Regions from separate parts of the Homo sapiens genome. Here region 2 is linked to region 1. Evidence: promoter capture Hi-C in 16 types of primary human blood cells and fetal thymus (Javierre and others, 2016). All regions are on one chromosome and are shown on one strand. Each heading gives the region's core, a stretch centred on a gene start or on the middle of the fragment in contact. The rest is flanking DNA. Distances are from core to core; before and after follow the strand shown. Region 1 holds the start of CCDC86 (coiled-coil domain containing 86). Region 2 overlaps TMEM132A (transmembrane protein 132A).

What was found. Contacts are between HindIII fragments. The CHiCAGO score rates a contact against its expected background, and 5 or more counts as called.
Region 2: a contact is called between a fragment that was not itself captured here and the fragment with the promoter of CCDC86 in region 1, in 2 of 17 cell types (total CD8 T cells and naive CD8 T cells). The highest score is 5.2, in total CD8 T cells.

The regions. Positions count from the first base shown.
Region 1 is chr11:60,839,630-60,847,574 of GRCh38, reverse strand. It overlaps CCDC86 (coiled-coil domain containing 86), which reads right to left and starts at 5,462. Exons shown (of 4, transcript NM_024098.4): 1 at 4,693-5,462. The coding sequence starts at 5,450. CCDC86-AS1 (CCDC86 antisense RNA 1) reads left to right here. Exons shown (of 2, transcript NR_182293.1): 2 at 5,595-5,769. RefSeq lists enhancers at 5,037-5,266, 5,173-6,372. The HindIII fragment of the contact is 9,112 bases long and covers 3,451-7,945 here.
Region 2 is chr11:60,924,564-60,931,542 of GRCh38, reverse strand. TMEM132A (transmembrane protein 132A) reads right to left here. Exons shown (of 11, transcript NM_178031.3): 1 at 6,810-6,979; 2 at 4,125-4,339; 3 at 3,684-3,902; 4 at 2,583-2,914; 5 at 884-1,033. The coding sequence starts at 6,909. It overlaps LOC124902676 (a long non-coding RNA gene), which reads left to right and starts at 6,146. Exons shown (of 2, transcript XR_007062688.1): 1 at 6,146-6,324. RefSeq lists silencers at 6,438-6,507, 6,548-6,767, 6,828-6,979. The HindIII fragment of the contact is 232 bases long and covers 1,264-1,495 here.

The DNA.
Region 1 (7,945 bases), core at 4,213-6,712:
TACGCGGCCCCTGCTGTAAAGTTCTGTTGCTTCCGCCAAGTGCATTTGGCCCGGGTGTGAATGCCTCTGGAGGCGGGGCGCTCACCCCCTAGGGAGGTGGCCCATTCCATTTCAGAACAGTGTGAGTGGTTAAAGTTCTGGGTAATGATTCAGGATCTTCCCCGCCAAGACCGGATGCAGTGGTCATGCTTGTAATCCCAGCACTTTGGGAGGCCAAGGTGGGCAGACCACGTGAGTCCAGGAGTTGGAGACCAGCCGGGCAAACATGGCAAAACCTACTAAGCCTACTAAAACCTACTAAAGTTTCTACTAAAAATACAAAAATTAGCTGGGTGTGATGGTGTATGCCTATAGTCCCAGCTACTTGGGAGGCTGAGGTACAACAATTGCTTGAACCTGGGAGGTGGAGGTTGCAGTGAGCCGAGATCGCGCCACTGCACTCCAGCCTGGGTGACAGAGCAAGACTCTGTCTCAAAAAAAAAAAAGAAAAAAGAAAAAAGAAAAAGAATCTCTTCCCCCAGTTGGAGATGAAGTGGGCATCAGGGCTCTCAGGGAAATCTGAAAAGAGCAACGATGATTTTAGAGTTACAGGAGAACTGAGCTCATCTCTGTAAAAATGCATACTACAAGGATTTATGAATGGGATGATATGTCTAGGATGTACTTTAAAATATTTCAGGGAAAAAAAAATGCCAAAGATCAGCCGGGCGCAGTGGCTCACGCCTGTAATCCCAGCACTTTGGGAGGCTGAGGTGGGCCGATCACCTAAGGTCGGGAGTTCGAGACCAGCTTGACCAACATGGAGAAACCCTGTCTCTACTAAAAATACAAAATTAGCTGGGTGTGGTGGCACACACCTGTAATCCCAGCTACTTGGGAGGCTGAGGCAGGAGAATCGCTTGAACCCAGGAGGCGGAGGTTGCGGTGAGCCGAGATTGCTCCATTGCACTCTGGCCTGGGCAACAAGAATGAAACTCCGTCTCAAAACAAAAAAAAAGAAAAAAAGAAAAAAAAGCCAAGTATCAAAGATGAAGCTACACTAGTAAAATGCTGAGCTGTGTTGATGCTGATAATGGGGACTTGAGAGCTTTGCTCTTTCTTTGTATGCTTGAAAATTTCCATTCAAAAAAAGTAAAAACAAAATGCAAAGAAGTCTCTCGGTGGCCTCCACATGCTGAAATTAGGTCTTTCTCTTTTAAAGATTCAAGGCCCATTTTGGTGTCCCTTGGCCCTGCCGACTTCTGGCCCCAGCTCCCTGATTTCCTTCTCCCCTTCCCAAGGCCTTGCCACTGAAGGCCTGGCCTCCTAAGCACTAAGAATGGGGTGCCACATGGACTTCCCCCATAACTGTAAAGCTGGGCTTCCCAAGCTGGGGTACGAGAACCCTGAAGGGACAAGGTGTTGGGAGCCTAGAGACACACAGAACCACAAGACACAGTGCTGCATCTGTGTAGAGCAGGGCTGTCAAACAGAACGTTCTGTGATGGTGGAAACATTCCACATTGACACTGTCCAATAAGGTAGCCACTAGTCATGGGTGGCTGCTGAGCGCTAGAAATGTGGTTGGTGTTGATAGAGAAACTGAATCTTAAATTTTATTTAATTTTAATTAATTTAAATGTACATAGCCACATGTGGCTGGCGGCTAAGGTACTGAGGCAGGGCAGTTCCAGACCATTGGTTCTACCTGGGTATTGAGGAAACTCAGGCCTGGGTTCCAAGTCCAACCTGGGTGACCTGGAGCAAGGTAGCCTCTCTAAGTCTCAGCATCCTGTCCAGTGGAGATGAGAATCATTCCTAACCCAAAGGGTGGTGGGAGATTTAATCGACACACACACGTAATAGGTGCTCCATAAATGCTACTCCTCAGAGAAGGCAGACAGCATGCCCAAGGGCACTATGGAGAAAGTGGCGTTTGGCATGAGCACGAAGACAGGGCTGCAGCCAGGTCTCCCTCACCACATACACTTTCCCAGCTGCGGCTGTCTTCCTCCCTGCAGCAGGAGCTGCTTCCCACCCATCTCCAGGCTCACTTACTACCCACCGAAGCTGCTCCCTCAAAGATCCCAAACATCCATTCAGTGGCCCTGCTGGGCCCCTCGCCACAGACTTGCCTGCAGCTTCGGAAGCTGTTTTAGTTCTCTTGAGACAGCCTCCTTGTGGGTTTTCCTGCCTTCACCCCTGCCCGCCTATGTCTGTGTTCAGTAGCCAGGCTGATCTCACAAGTCAGGTCATTTCATTCCTTTGCTTGACACCCTTCCATGGCTCCCAAGCTCACTCAGGAAAGCCGGGAGTCCCTGTAAGGGTCACCAGGTCCTGCTGTCTCTCTGACCTCATCTCCTACTGTTCCCCTTCTCCCCCTCATTCCAGCAGCGAGACCTCTGGAAAGCCTCTCAAACGGGAGCTTGCTCCCGCCTCAATACCTCTGAACATCCCTTTCCTGTTGCCTGGATACTGTTTCCCCAGATCTCTGCCCGGCTCCCTCTGCTCAGACCTGTTTATCTGCAAGGCCATCTCTGAGCACTGTGGCAATACCCTGCCCTCCCTGTTATTCTCTGGTCCCCATCCTGGTTTATTTTTCTTTGAAGTCTTTATTACTGACATATCATGTGTGTACTTGTTCTTTATCTGTTTCCCACATTTAGAATGTTTGCTTCAGGAGAGCAGAGACTTTTTGTTCACAGACATGTTTACCCAAGATCTGAGCAACTGGTTGATGAATGAATGAACTACCTTCTGTCCTCAATTCATCCACTTGTTCAGCTTAGTGCCCTACCCTGCACTGGGCTCTGGGGCATCTAGTCATGATAGGTAAGTCCCCACTCTTACACTCTCACGGAGCCTCCGGTTTAAAGGAAAACAGGCAGTCAATAAGAATCACAAATAAATAAGCATTTGTGCAAATGGAGGTGTTACAAAAGAGAAGTACAGCACACAATGATAACATAAAGCATGGGGACTTAACCCTAGTTGGATAAGCCAGAGAGGCTTTTCAGAGGAGGTGACATTTGAACTGAGCCCTGAAACATGAGTGGGGGACTGGCCAGGGAAAGAGCCTTTCAAACAGTGGGAACAGCACGTGTGAAGGCGCTGAGGAAGGAGGGAGCGTCACACATGGGAGGAACATGGAGGGGACAACAGTGTGGAAGCTCTAGTGATGGAGGGGAGAGGAGGGTGGGCCTGCCGGCCTCATTAAGGAGTCTGGAGTGCATGCTCTGAGTGAGCAACAGTGAGTCAGGACGGGTCTGCAGTTGGGCAGGGAGCTGGAACCACACACCCTCTCTCCAGACTTCTTGGTCAAGTGATCTGTGGCCTCCTACTCTGCTCCAGCTGCTGATCCTGTGTCTTGTGTGGGCCCCTCCCTTCTCCCCACCTCTGCATGGGCCCAGCCCCCTCTAGCTCAGCAAGCCCATCTCCCCACCTGCAGCGTGAGTACCAGGACCCCAAGCTTCACCCGCTCAACTTGCTCATCACCCTCTTCCCACCTGAACCAGCCTCCTCCAGTTCCACATGGCCATCAACGGCCCTGCCATTCTCCTGTGACCCCCTGGGACAGGGCAGAGGGGTAGTGCCATCATCCACTTCTCCAACAGTTACAGTCACTCTAGCCTCAAAGTCTCTCCCATGGGAGACTTGCAGTAAATTACTCTGTAAGCCTCAGTTTCTTCTGTTTCATCAGGGGTGGGGGGATAATATCCACAGCCTAGGGTTTTAAGGATACAAGAAAAGGGCCTAGCACGAAGCCTGGCACAGAGTCAGCTTCTTCCTTAAAAACACCCTCCTTCCTCATGGTCCCTCACAGGCATACATCCCTGACTCTCCCCTGTGGTTCCCATTAGCTCGAATTGGAACTGAATCCCACACCTCTCCTTCATGGCAGCCTACACTCTTCCTTCTTCAGATGAGCTACTTCGTTCCTTCATTAAATAAGCATTCATTGGGCATTTACTATGCCCTTGGCACAGAAAGACAAGAAAGATCTCGTGCCTGCCCCTTAAGAAGGTCGCAATCCAATTCAAGGTGGATCTACAGGGATTGGGTAAAGGGGTTTTTTGCACACAGGCTTCGGAATCAGATCTGTGCTCAGGTCCTGTGCCTACCACTCATTTAGCCTTGGTTTCCTCACACAAAAAACAGGAATAATAACACCGCCTGCTTCACAGGGCTGACGTGCAGATTAAGCGTGATGACACATGCTGTTCCATGTTTGAAAGGCTGTTGACTGGTAAATCCTTATTAAGGCTGTTGACTGGTAAATCCTTATATAATCAGTGCTCAGTAATACTTTTTATCTTAAAGGCAAATAACTGTAATAGACTATATTGGATGAAGACCTCACTGCTTTGATCAAGTAATGGCTGGTTTACTTGCTTCTGCTTCTCTCACTAGAGAGGGCAGACAACGGTAAATGTCTGTTGAACGAATACAGACCTGAGGTGCTACAGGAGAGGCCCATAGGGACCCTGAGGAGGAAAGGCATCAGAGAAATTGATCTTTGAGGGCCTGGCCCCACCCTCTCCGGGATCCCAGGGCATTTTACCACATTCTGATTGTAATTACCTGTTTGCTAACATCCCCACTAACGTGAGCTCTCTCTAACCCTGGGGCTATTCTCCAGGCTGCAGCAGGGCAAAGGCGGGGTCCCAACACCATAGAGAACGCCACCCCTGTCCATGCTGTCCCCCACTTCACCTTTTCTTGGAGCGGTCCTTCCACACTCGCCCCGATTTGGGCTTCCCCTTCGGGATTACAGGAAGCTCCTCTTTATTCAACTTCTTGGACGCTGGGGCCTGGGATGAAGAACCTTTTCGCTTCTTTGCCCCGAAGCCGCCTGTCACCGTCTCCCCAGCTGGAGGTGGCTTGCTCGGCTCATGCTGACCCCGGGGGGAGCCAGGTGCCCTGGGTGTCAGCTCCAGTAGTGGCTGAGAGGGCTCCGGACCGGGAGCTTGCTGACCGGGGTAAGGCTCTGGTGATCCTGGGACCGGCGGTAGCTGATGCTGGGGGGCCCCCGGGGTCAGCTCCTCCTTATTCTGGGCCAACTCCGAGGCCAGTACTCCCTGGTCCTGAGAACACTTTGGTGCCTCCTCACTTGGCTTCGGCTGACATCGTGGGGATTCAGGACTGTACTCTGGCTGTCTTTGAGGCGACTCCAGGTGTAGGTCTTGCTGACGCTGGGGGGACGCTGCGCCTGGCTCTGGCTGCCCTTGGGGTGACTCCAAGCCTGCACCCTGCTGCAGACGGGGTGATCCTGGGCTTGTCTTCGGCGGCCTTTCGGGGGACCCCAGGCCAGCCCGCTGCACACTCGGAGGAGACCCGGGCTCCCTCGTTTCTTCTGGGTTCGACTCGAACTCCACAAGGGCCCGTCTCGTCCGCGAAACTGAGGTGAGGCTCTCGGGGGATTCGGGCCTTAGGCCTCCCAGCCGTCGGCTGCGCCTTAACGGTGTATCCATGGCTCAGCCGGTAAGTTTCCACACCCCTGCGCACGTGCAGCCCCCGCCGAAACCGGCGCCTTCCTATGACGTCAGGAGTCGCCGCGTCCGTGACGCACAGGAGGGGGGCTGTTGCTGAGGCGGCCATGTTGGTGAGGGGTGGAGAGGCGGGACCGGGGTTGGGGAGAGTGGGGCTCAGCATGCGCATGCGCAATTCGCGCGAGCGCAGTCAACATGTGATTGATGAGCCAGTCTTTTTCCTGGGATTCGCTTTTGCCTTTCTTGCAAAGTTTCCTGGGGAAAGAAGAGCGAGCAAGTAGAAAAGGGAAAGTGGGAGGACCCATTTCAGGGAGAGAACAGAGTCGAAAAAAGGTCCGAGGAGCCCATAGGCAAGGCCCAGTGGATGTTTTGCAGCCAACTCCGGTGCAGTTGGGCAGAGTCCTGCCCTCCTTGGGCCTGTTTTCTCATTTGTAATAGGGGTCATTTTGCACTAGCTTCGTGCATCCCAAATGATCCTGTCAGAGTCCTCCTCCCACCTACCTGAGGGACTGCTACCTGGGGGTCCTGGAGGTGGAAGATCGGTCTTTTCTGTGTTAATTGTTCACACTCTTGATTCTTCCGTCCTGTGCTTCCGTATATAATCCATAGCTCTCCCTCCCTTTTCAGCGTTTTCAACGTTTGTGAGGGAAGTTGAGGTACCAATAAGATGCACCACCTTTGTCCTGTGGCTCACCTGGGCCCTCGACCAGCTGCATATCCTCCCACGTCCCTCTTCTTCTACCCCAGTTCTAGAAACGGGTTGGATCATCTCCGATCTTCCTTTCAGCCCAGACAGTGGTTTTTGCTCGTGTGTGAACCTGCTTCGCCTCCCCTCCCTTCCCTTGCTATTCACCTGTAAATGTACTTTGCTTACTAAGCACTTTGGGACCTCACCAGTGAGCAGGTGTTGACTTCTGGACCTCCCAAGGCCTAGAGAAGACTCTCGGGATGTGGGGTTGGGGAATGTGGGGCTGTGGAGACTTTCGTGTGAGACCTAGGAGTGGGGCTTTGATTTACTTACAGCATGCTTCTTAGGAAGAACATCTTGGAAGTGGCCCAGTTGTGTAATTCTTGGAACTGCCTGGGGTTGGCCATTAAAGGTCCCAGGGCCCCGTCTGACATTCCAGTGGTTTCTTTTAGAAACCATTGTTTCTCCAGCTGCGGGCTTGTGAGAGGGCCTGGGAAATTGTCCAAGAATATCAGGGATCAGAGTGTCCTCATCTTCCTCATGTTCCTGAGTCAAGGAGACCCCTGCAGGGGGGCTTTGCCTGCCTCACTGCTCCTCTCCGGCCATGCAGCTGTCCACAGCAGAAGCAGCCGGGACACCTCCTTGCCCAGCTCTTCCACCCCCCAACTGTCAGAGGAGTGAGTTCCATTCAGTTCCTTAAATGCCCTGCCCCTGCCTGGAGACCCCAATGATCTGACACTCAGAACCAAGCCCGGCAGGTGTTGCCAGAGTGCTGGAGGAGACTGTATGCCCCTCTGCCCTGCTCCAGTCCCCCTTGGCTTGCCCTGCCTCCTAAGCTCTTGTCCCCAGCTGGAGGGATCACTCTCCAGTGCCGATTGGATCATATCCTAGTCTAGCCTGAAATACTTCAGAGGGTGATCTCAGGTTTTCACCAGAGAGAGGGAGATGTGTTTTAGAGGAGGCCTTTGGGTGGCCCCCAGACATTTGGAGGCACTTTGTCAACCTCAGCATCAGATGGGCTCTGGCCCAGAACCCCCTACTCCCACATGAGCTCAGTTTGTCATTGTCATTATACATGGTGTGCAGAGGCCCAGAGGAGACTCCTGAAATTTTCAGAAGCGCCTGGTGTGGCGATCGCTGTTGGGACCCTGTCTCCTTACACTCCTTTGCTTTCTTTTAAAAATTATTATTATTTTTGAGACAGGGTCTTGCTCTGTTGTCCAGGCTGGAGTGCAGTGGCACAATCACAGCTCACTGCAGCCTTGACCTCCCAGGCCCCAGGGATCCTCCCACCTGAGTAGCTGGCACCACAGGCTCATGCCACCATGCCTGGCTATTTTTTTTTTTTTGTAGAAACGGGGTCTCCCTGTGTTGCTCAGGCTGGTCTTGAACTCCTGGGCTCAAGTGATCCTCCTGCCTCGGCCTCCTGAAGTGTTGGGATTACAGGCGTGAGCCACTGTGCCTGGCCACTCCTTTGCTTTTATTGCAGCTTTCTACATCACAGCTTTCTTGCCTTTAGGTGGTAGGATACTGAGGGGCTTCTCTGTAGCCCCCAGAGGCCACCAACAGGATTGAACTTGCATTGCCCACAAAGGTAATCTGCTCATGGACCCTCTTTTGGCTTCATCCCTGTCTCACTTCCCCACTTTCTTATAGATGCTTGCTGAGGTCATTCTCAGAGCAGACAAATATTGTACTTAATCCTCTTCTCAGAGTTGGCTTCTGCAGAAACCTAGCCTGAAACATTGGTGCCAGCAATGATTGGTCCAGGCATTGTTTCAAGTACTCT
Region 2 (6,979 bases), core at 130-2,629, 88 kb before region 1:
AAAAGTAGCGGGGCTGGGATCTAAACCCAAGCATCCTCGCTCTAGACCCCAAACTCTGACCCACTCTTGGCCTCTCTAAGATCCATGAAGCCATTTAACCACCTCCCACCTGGCAAGGTGGCTCACTCCCCTGCCTGCCCGGGCCCGCTTCCCCCAGACTTCCGCTTTCCACAGCCACTGAGGTGGCATGCGGGAGATTCACTTCCAGGTCCCAGGACCAGACACTTGACCCTCTGAATGATAAGCTTCCTTTGATCAAACAAAAACCTATGTGCTGGGAACCGTCCTGGGTGCCTGATATGTAGCACTGTATTTTATTTTCAAAAATGCTAAGGGATGCATTATTATTCCTATTTCACAAGTGAAGAAACTGAGGCTTGGGTAGGGGAATGTTAACTGGCTTGCCCAAGGTTTTGCCCATCCCAAAAGCATCAGAACCAGAATTCGAACTGGGGCTACTGAGTCCATGGCCTTGACCCAGGCTCAGGGCATGAATAAGAAGAGTTCACAACCGCAGAACTGCAGCTGGGCTTTTTGGGGGAATGTGAACGGCCCAGAGAAAGGATCATTTGGTGGAAGCAGGGGGATGGAGTAGTGGCTATGAGGGCTCTACCTGGGGCACAGGATTGGTTGGCATCTCTTAGAATAAGACTCACAGACACTTGCTATGCCTGGCACATGGCTGGGGCTGGGAAGATAGTGGCCGAATGAATGAATGAAGGAATGGATTATGCCTGCTTTGTGCTGCTTCCTTGAAAAAATCTGTCCTTGGGTCTGCTCACCTGGGGATCTAGAGGCAGCATGGCAGCCTCCAAATCTGCTCAACTGCACTCTATAACCAGCCCTCCCTCCTTTGCCCCCTGGGTGGAGGGAAACTGCCCACCTGGAATCTGGCTCTGTGAGCCCAGCACGGTGGCAGGTGATGAGGGTGGTGTGGTGCCTGGAGCCCTTGAAGCGGTCCAGCTTGGCAGTCCAGAGTGTGGGCTGGGCTGGGCGGGCGGCTGTCACATGCAGCCCCTTCTTCACCTTGATCCTGGGGAAGAGAGTATAGGCTCAGTTTGGCAAGGTGCATGCTGAACTGTGGGCTGGATTGAAGGGGAAAGACAAGGAGCCAAAGCCATCTGACCTCCCTGGCTCCAGTCTGAATCTCCTCTTCACCATCCTCCAACCCAGAAGGACCCCGCCTCAGTGCAGCTCACACCTTACAGCTCTCCCCCACCCAAAGACCACTTACGCCTCCCCACTGCCCATAAGGTCAAAGCTTAGCCGGGCATTTGGGGGCCCTCCAGGGTCTGGTCCAGCCTTAACTTCGGTTGTGACATCTCTCCATGCACTCTCTGCTTCAGCTACACACAAGTTTCCCACACACACGGCACCCATTCGTGACTCCAAGCCTTTGCCCAGTCTGTGCCTTCAGCCTGCTCTGCCCTTTCTTACTTTACCTGCTGATGCTTTAAGCCTCCAACAACTCACAGACCATTTCCTTTAGAAAGCTTTTCCAGTGGTGGGATGAATTTCCCCCTTACTGCACCCACTCACCTGAGCTCCCACCGCACTTTGAACCTCCCTCAGTGCTTACACACCCACATGCCTTCTAATCCAATTCATGCCCATCCAGCTCCCTTCCCTACCACTGGGGCCCCTTTCTGCCAGATAGGGACTGGCCCTTGCTCGTGTTTGGATCTGCAGAGTGAAGACACAGGGCTTGGCAGGCTGTAAGTGTCTAGGAAAGATCTGCTTAATAAGAGTGAGCATAGGAGGGCGTAGGAGATGGGGAGACACAGAGACGGGACATGCACAAACCCAGGCAGGGCTTGAAACTAGGTCTAGGTTTCAAAGCATGTCCACAGACCGCTCTTCGATCCTCAGGAAAGATATCATTACAAAGTGAGCAAGTCCCAGTGCCTCACCCTAACCAAGCCCAGGACTATCCTGCCTAGAACTCAGGCTTCTCAGAATCTTAAAGCCTAAGAGATGCCTCTCCCATGGATTCCTGCGCTGGACTCCAGAAGCAAGTCATACTCTGCAAGCCCTTGCCGGGTGAACTGGGTAGGTGGGTGGGGGCTGCTTTGGGGGAACTTATTACGGAAAAGGACACAAAGAATCAGGGCCTTCCTATGGGGAAGAGCAAGCTCTGTCCAAAGGCTAGACTCCTACGGCGAGGGTGGCAAGGAGGGACAGCATGTAGGTGAACGTGATTGGGGCAAATATCCCTCTCTGGAGCACTGGAGCAAGAGCTCACACTTAGGTACTGCAGTCTCTAAGCCCTTTGCGGGTTCCCCTCCCTGGAGACTTGCAGCTGCCCTGAAGGTGGACCGTTAGCCCCATTGGACAAAGGAATCTCAGGGAGGTGCCAGGGGAAGGGGCAGCTTCCTACTTCTGACTCTAATTCCAGGGCTGTGCCCATGGTGGGCTCCTACCAGCACAGTCATGGCTTTTTACCTGGAAGGAGTTTAGTTTGGTGGACACATGTTTTGCAGAGGTCAAGGATTCCAGCAAGGACCCCAGGAGGAGCAGGTACCTGTCCCTAGTCTTCCCACAGAGGTTCCCACCCTCACCCATCCCCGTGGCCTGGTGCTCACCGCAGGGTCAGGAGGCTGGCTGTGAAGTTGTGCCGAAGCAGGAGGGTAGCACTAAAGAGCTGGCCGGGCCGCACTGGCATGTCAGGCACCCGCAGAGTCACAGCCTCGTCCAGAGGTACCTCCTGGTACTGCGGGGGGTCTGCTGGGCGCAGCTCCACACCCCCCACTGGGAGGGCCTGCTCCCCAGGGTCGTTCTCCTCGCCGGAGCCACAGCCCCCAGGGCCCTCAGCTGCAGGCTCAAGCGTGTAGGCCAGCTCGGCCCGTGTGGTGGAGGCCTGTGAGAACCAGTGCGAGGGAAGCTCCAGCTCCACCACGCAGGCGCCCAGGGATGGCTGTGAAGACACGACAGCAGTAATTGGCATGGGGGTGGGTGCAGGGCGAGGAACAGGATTCTCAGCACCCATGGCAGGAAACCCAGAGCTGGAGGGGCTCATGAAAGGGAGGCCCAGCATGGGCCGGAGACACAGCCTGAGTGACACAGCAAACCAGCAACCTGGCTGGGGCTTCAAACCAGGTCTAGGTTTCAGAGCATGTCCGCAGACCACTCTTCAGCCCTTGGGATAGGTCTCATTACAAAGTAAGCCAATCCCAGGGCCTTACCCTAACCAAGCCCAGGACTATCCTGCCTAGAATCCAGTCTTCTTCTCAGAATCCTAAAGCTCAAGAGACGCCTCTCCCATGGATTCCTGTGCTAGACTCCAAAATAGTGGAAATAGCAATTATAAAAGTAACACTACTAATAATGCAAACACACTGGCTGATTGATTACTCTGCCGTAAGCTATCCTTACATTCATCTCACTTGTTCCTTACTCCAACTCCAGATGGGGTAGGAATTCTTAACACCCCATTCTTCAGATGAGGAAACTGAATCTCAGAGAGATTAAGTTACTTACTCAAAGTCACACACCAAGGACTGAACTCCCTCTGGGGCCCTAAATAACCTTTTCACAGCACTGAAAGCTAGTGGGGGCAGAAATGGAGTCGGGTGGTCCACAACCCCCGCGCTTCCCAGGAGTGGGGGTTTCCTCTCTGCCGCGGGCCCACCACCTGGCTGATGCAGCTGCAGCAGGACCAGCCTAGGTGGGGCCTGTCTACTCACCTGGAAGCGGCAGGCTTGGTGAGCAGTGCCGGCAGGGTGTGTGGCATGGAGCCGGGCACAGGGCAGGCTGCCAGACCCTGGTGGCCAATCCTGCCCTTTGAGGTGGAAGAGAACCCGGGCGTAGGGCTCTGCTGGAGTCACAGCCGCTTCCACTGAAACGGCCCGCACGTCCCATGGGACTGGCCGTTGGTGGGGCTCAGTGACTCGAGGGGGGACCACCTGGAGGGAGAATGAGAGGGCTTAACAAAAGAGGAGCTTGGGAGGGGAAGATCTAGGAAGATGGGATCCCAGCTTGGCAGAAGAGAACCTTTATGGGCCTCAGTTTCCCCCTCTGGAATATGGGGAGCACAGCCGGGGCTGGGGAAGGCTCCCAATTTGTACCCAGCAGACCTCAGGCCCTGAGTCCTGTTAGCCTGAGAGTCCCCGGTGCCCCCTCCTTACCTGCTGAGTGGCAAAAGGTGGGTAGGAGGCCCGGAGAAGTGGCTGGGCCCTGGGCCAGGGCTGTAGGAGCAGAAAGGTCTCAGATCGGGAGCTCAGAGAGGAGTTGGCAGGTGGGTAGTGGCCCACCTGCTGCACACGGAAGTGTTCAGGGGCGTCTAGGAGCTCCAGGGCTGCCGGCAGGTAGACAGGGTCCAGGGGAGCCTGGCCACAGTCCACTGAAGAGGCATAAGAGGGAGAGATGATGACAGCTCCAGAGCTGGCAGGGGCTGACCCGGGTGCCATGCTGGGGCACAGTAGTTGTGGGCAAGGGAGGGAGAAAAGGGCTGTAAATGTCCCTTCCCCTCTCACCACCATTTCACAGATGAGGTCACTGAGGCTTAAAGAGCCTCACACAGGTAGTATGTAGCAAAGCCAGGATTCGAATCTGAGTCCAGGACTGGATGCTTCCCAGCTATTCCTTCTACTTTCCACAGACCTTGGCCTTCTTCTCGCCAACAGCCTTCTCAATGTCTCCTTTTCCCCAACTCCTGCCCTCCATCTACTCGCCTCTGATACCAAGGCACTTCTGGGGTGCAACCGTCGGCAGACTGGGCCAGTGTAGTAAAATATGGTAATGAAGTGAGCTTTCTCTGCCCTGAATCCTTGGCCAGGCTCTGCTGGGCATCCACCCCTCCTCCCCCATCATTGCCATGGCAACCTGCACCATCTTTCCAAGCTTGCTCCCTTCTTCCCTGAACCGACTGGTATCGAGTGCAAGTGTGGGATGGGCGGGCGCGGAAGGTGCTGAAGAGGTCTGTGAAGGCACTTGCTTGCCCTGGGGGTGGGGTGGGGACCAGGAGCCTGGGGAAGACAGTCAAAATAGTCAATCATCAGAAGGACAAAGGAGCACTAAGCCATATTGGTTTGCTCTAACTATGAGCACTAATAATAATAATTAGCATTTTGTGAATGCTATATGCAGGTGAGAATTTAAATACTGTATGTATATGAACTCTTTGAGTCTTTGTAATAATTCTGTGAACCAGGTTCTATTATGATGAATCCCATTTTGTGGATGTAGAAAATGAGGCCGAGAGGTTAAGGTATTTGCCTGTGGTTCCACAGCTGGAGAGTGAAGGAGCTGGGGGTTGATCCCAGGTATTAGCCACTAGACCATCCGGCGTCTCCACCTGCCACTTCTCTCTCCACTCTCCACTGCCACGGTGCACCCTGCAGGCTTCATGCCCTGGAGCGCACCTCCTCTCCTCTGCTCTGCCCGGTGGCACCTCCCTCCTCATTCAGGGCCATGAGTGAATACTGCCTCCTTCTGAAGGAAGCCCTCCTTGGTTACTCACCTTCCCACCAGTCTCCTGTCTTTTGCAACCCTGGGTGCCTCCTCTGAATTAGTAATCTTCCTATAAACAAGGGACCCTGTCTTGCTCATCCTGGAATTCCCCCAAACTAGGAAGCGCTCCCTAGAGAGGATTTCCTGGGAGCCTGGAGACCTGAATTTAAATTGATGAAACTTGGGTCAGGCATTAACATTTTGAAGCCTGTTTCCTCACTTGTAAAAGGGGCAGGAGCATTAGGTGGCACTGTGGACAGGACAGGGCTGTGTAAACTGTGGAGTGCTGTCTGGAGGGAGCAGGCATTATTGCTGCTGCATAATGGATTTGACAAGGTTTTCCTCCTCTCTCTATTAGGACTCCCATGGCGTCCCTCGGGATGGGGAGCAGGTGGCTGAAAGCAACCCCACAGCTAGCTCCCTCTCAGCCCCACAGCTGGACTGTGGGTGGGGGTGGGGGAATTGGTTTCAACCTCCTTCCTGGCCCTCCCCACCAAGGAGCATATGACTGACAGGCTCTCCCTGCCCCCTGCCCCAAGCGTAACAAGTGACCACTGCTCTCTGGGGGCAGCCACTGGCTTCAGGTTCGCCTCCTACTCCATTGCCTCCATAATTACAAGATGCTCTTAGCCTGACTCCCACGGACTCCCATCACCCAGCGCTCGGCTCTCTCGGTGGGGAGGGCAGAGAATGTTTCACTGTCCCTCTGTCTTCTGTGGCATCCTTTGCCTTGCAGCCACAGCCCAGCTAGCCCAGGCCAAGGGAGTCCGACCCCCACCCCGAAGCACAGGGAAGTTGCTGCCCTTTCCCGCAGTGACAGGAATCCTCTCAAAGGTTCTGGAAGGCAAGGATGCGGCCATCCCTGGAGACGCCAAGGTCAGGGAGCCCTGGGGGAAGGGGGAGGGAGGGCTTGCGTCTGTTGCAGGTCCCAGGCAAAGGGGCTGCTTTCCACTCCCGAGGGGGGTGGGTTGGTGGCGGCGGAAGGAGGCTAGGAGGGTGCAGCGCTACAGACCACAGTGAGGGAGTGGGGATGACGCTAGTGCGCCCGGGACCGGGGCCGCCGGGTTCGATGCCCGGGCTGAGGGGTCCCTCGCAGAAGGTGCGGGACGGGGAAGCCCCTGCGCCGGGCTGCCCCGGGTCAGGAAGGAGTTGCCGGGTCGTGCAAGGTGAAGGAAGCCTTAGGGGCGAGTGGCTGGGGGCAGGTTCCCGAGGGCAAGAACTCTCCGACCTTCAGGGCGCTGCGGGGCGACCCCGCTCAGGGTTCAGTCCGAGAACCCAAAGGTTGGTGGCTCCCGGGCATCACTCGCTCCCACTCGGCCGGGCCCGGCCGCCCCTCGCCCCGGCCCTCCCCTCCCGCTGACCTCTCACGACGTCCAGGGCGAGGGCCACCAGGAGGCAGAGCCAGGGGCCGTAGGGCCCCCGAGGGGCCGCTGTTGTGCGACCGGCCATCCGCGCGCACATCCTTCCCACAGAAGGCGGGGACGAGGCGGGCGGCTCAGGTGGCCCCAGTCCCGCACGGCATCTCCCGCAC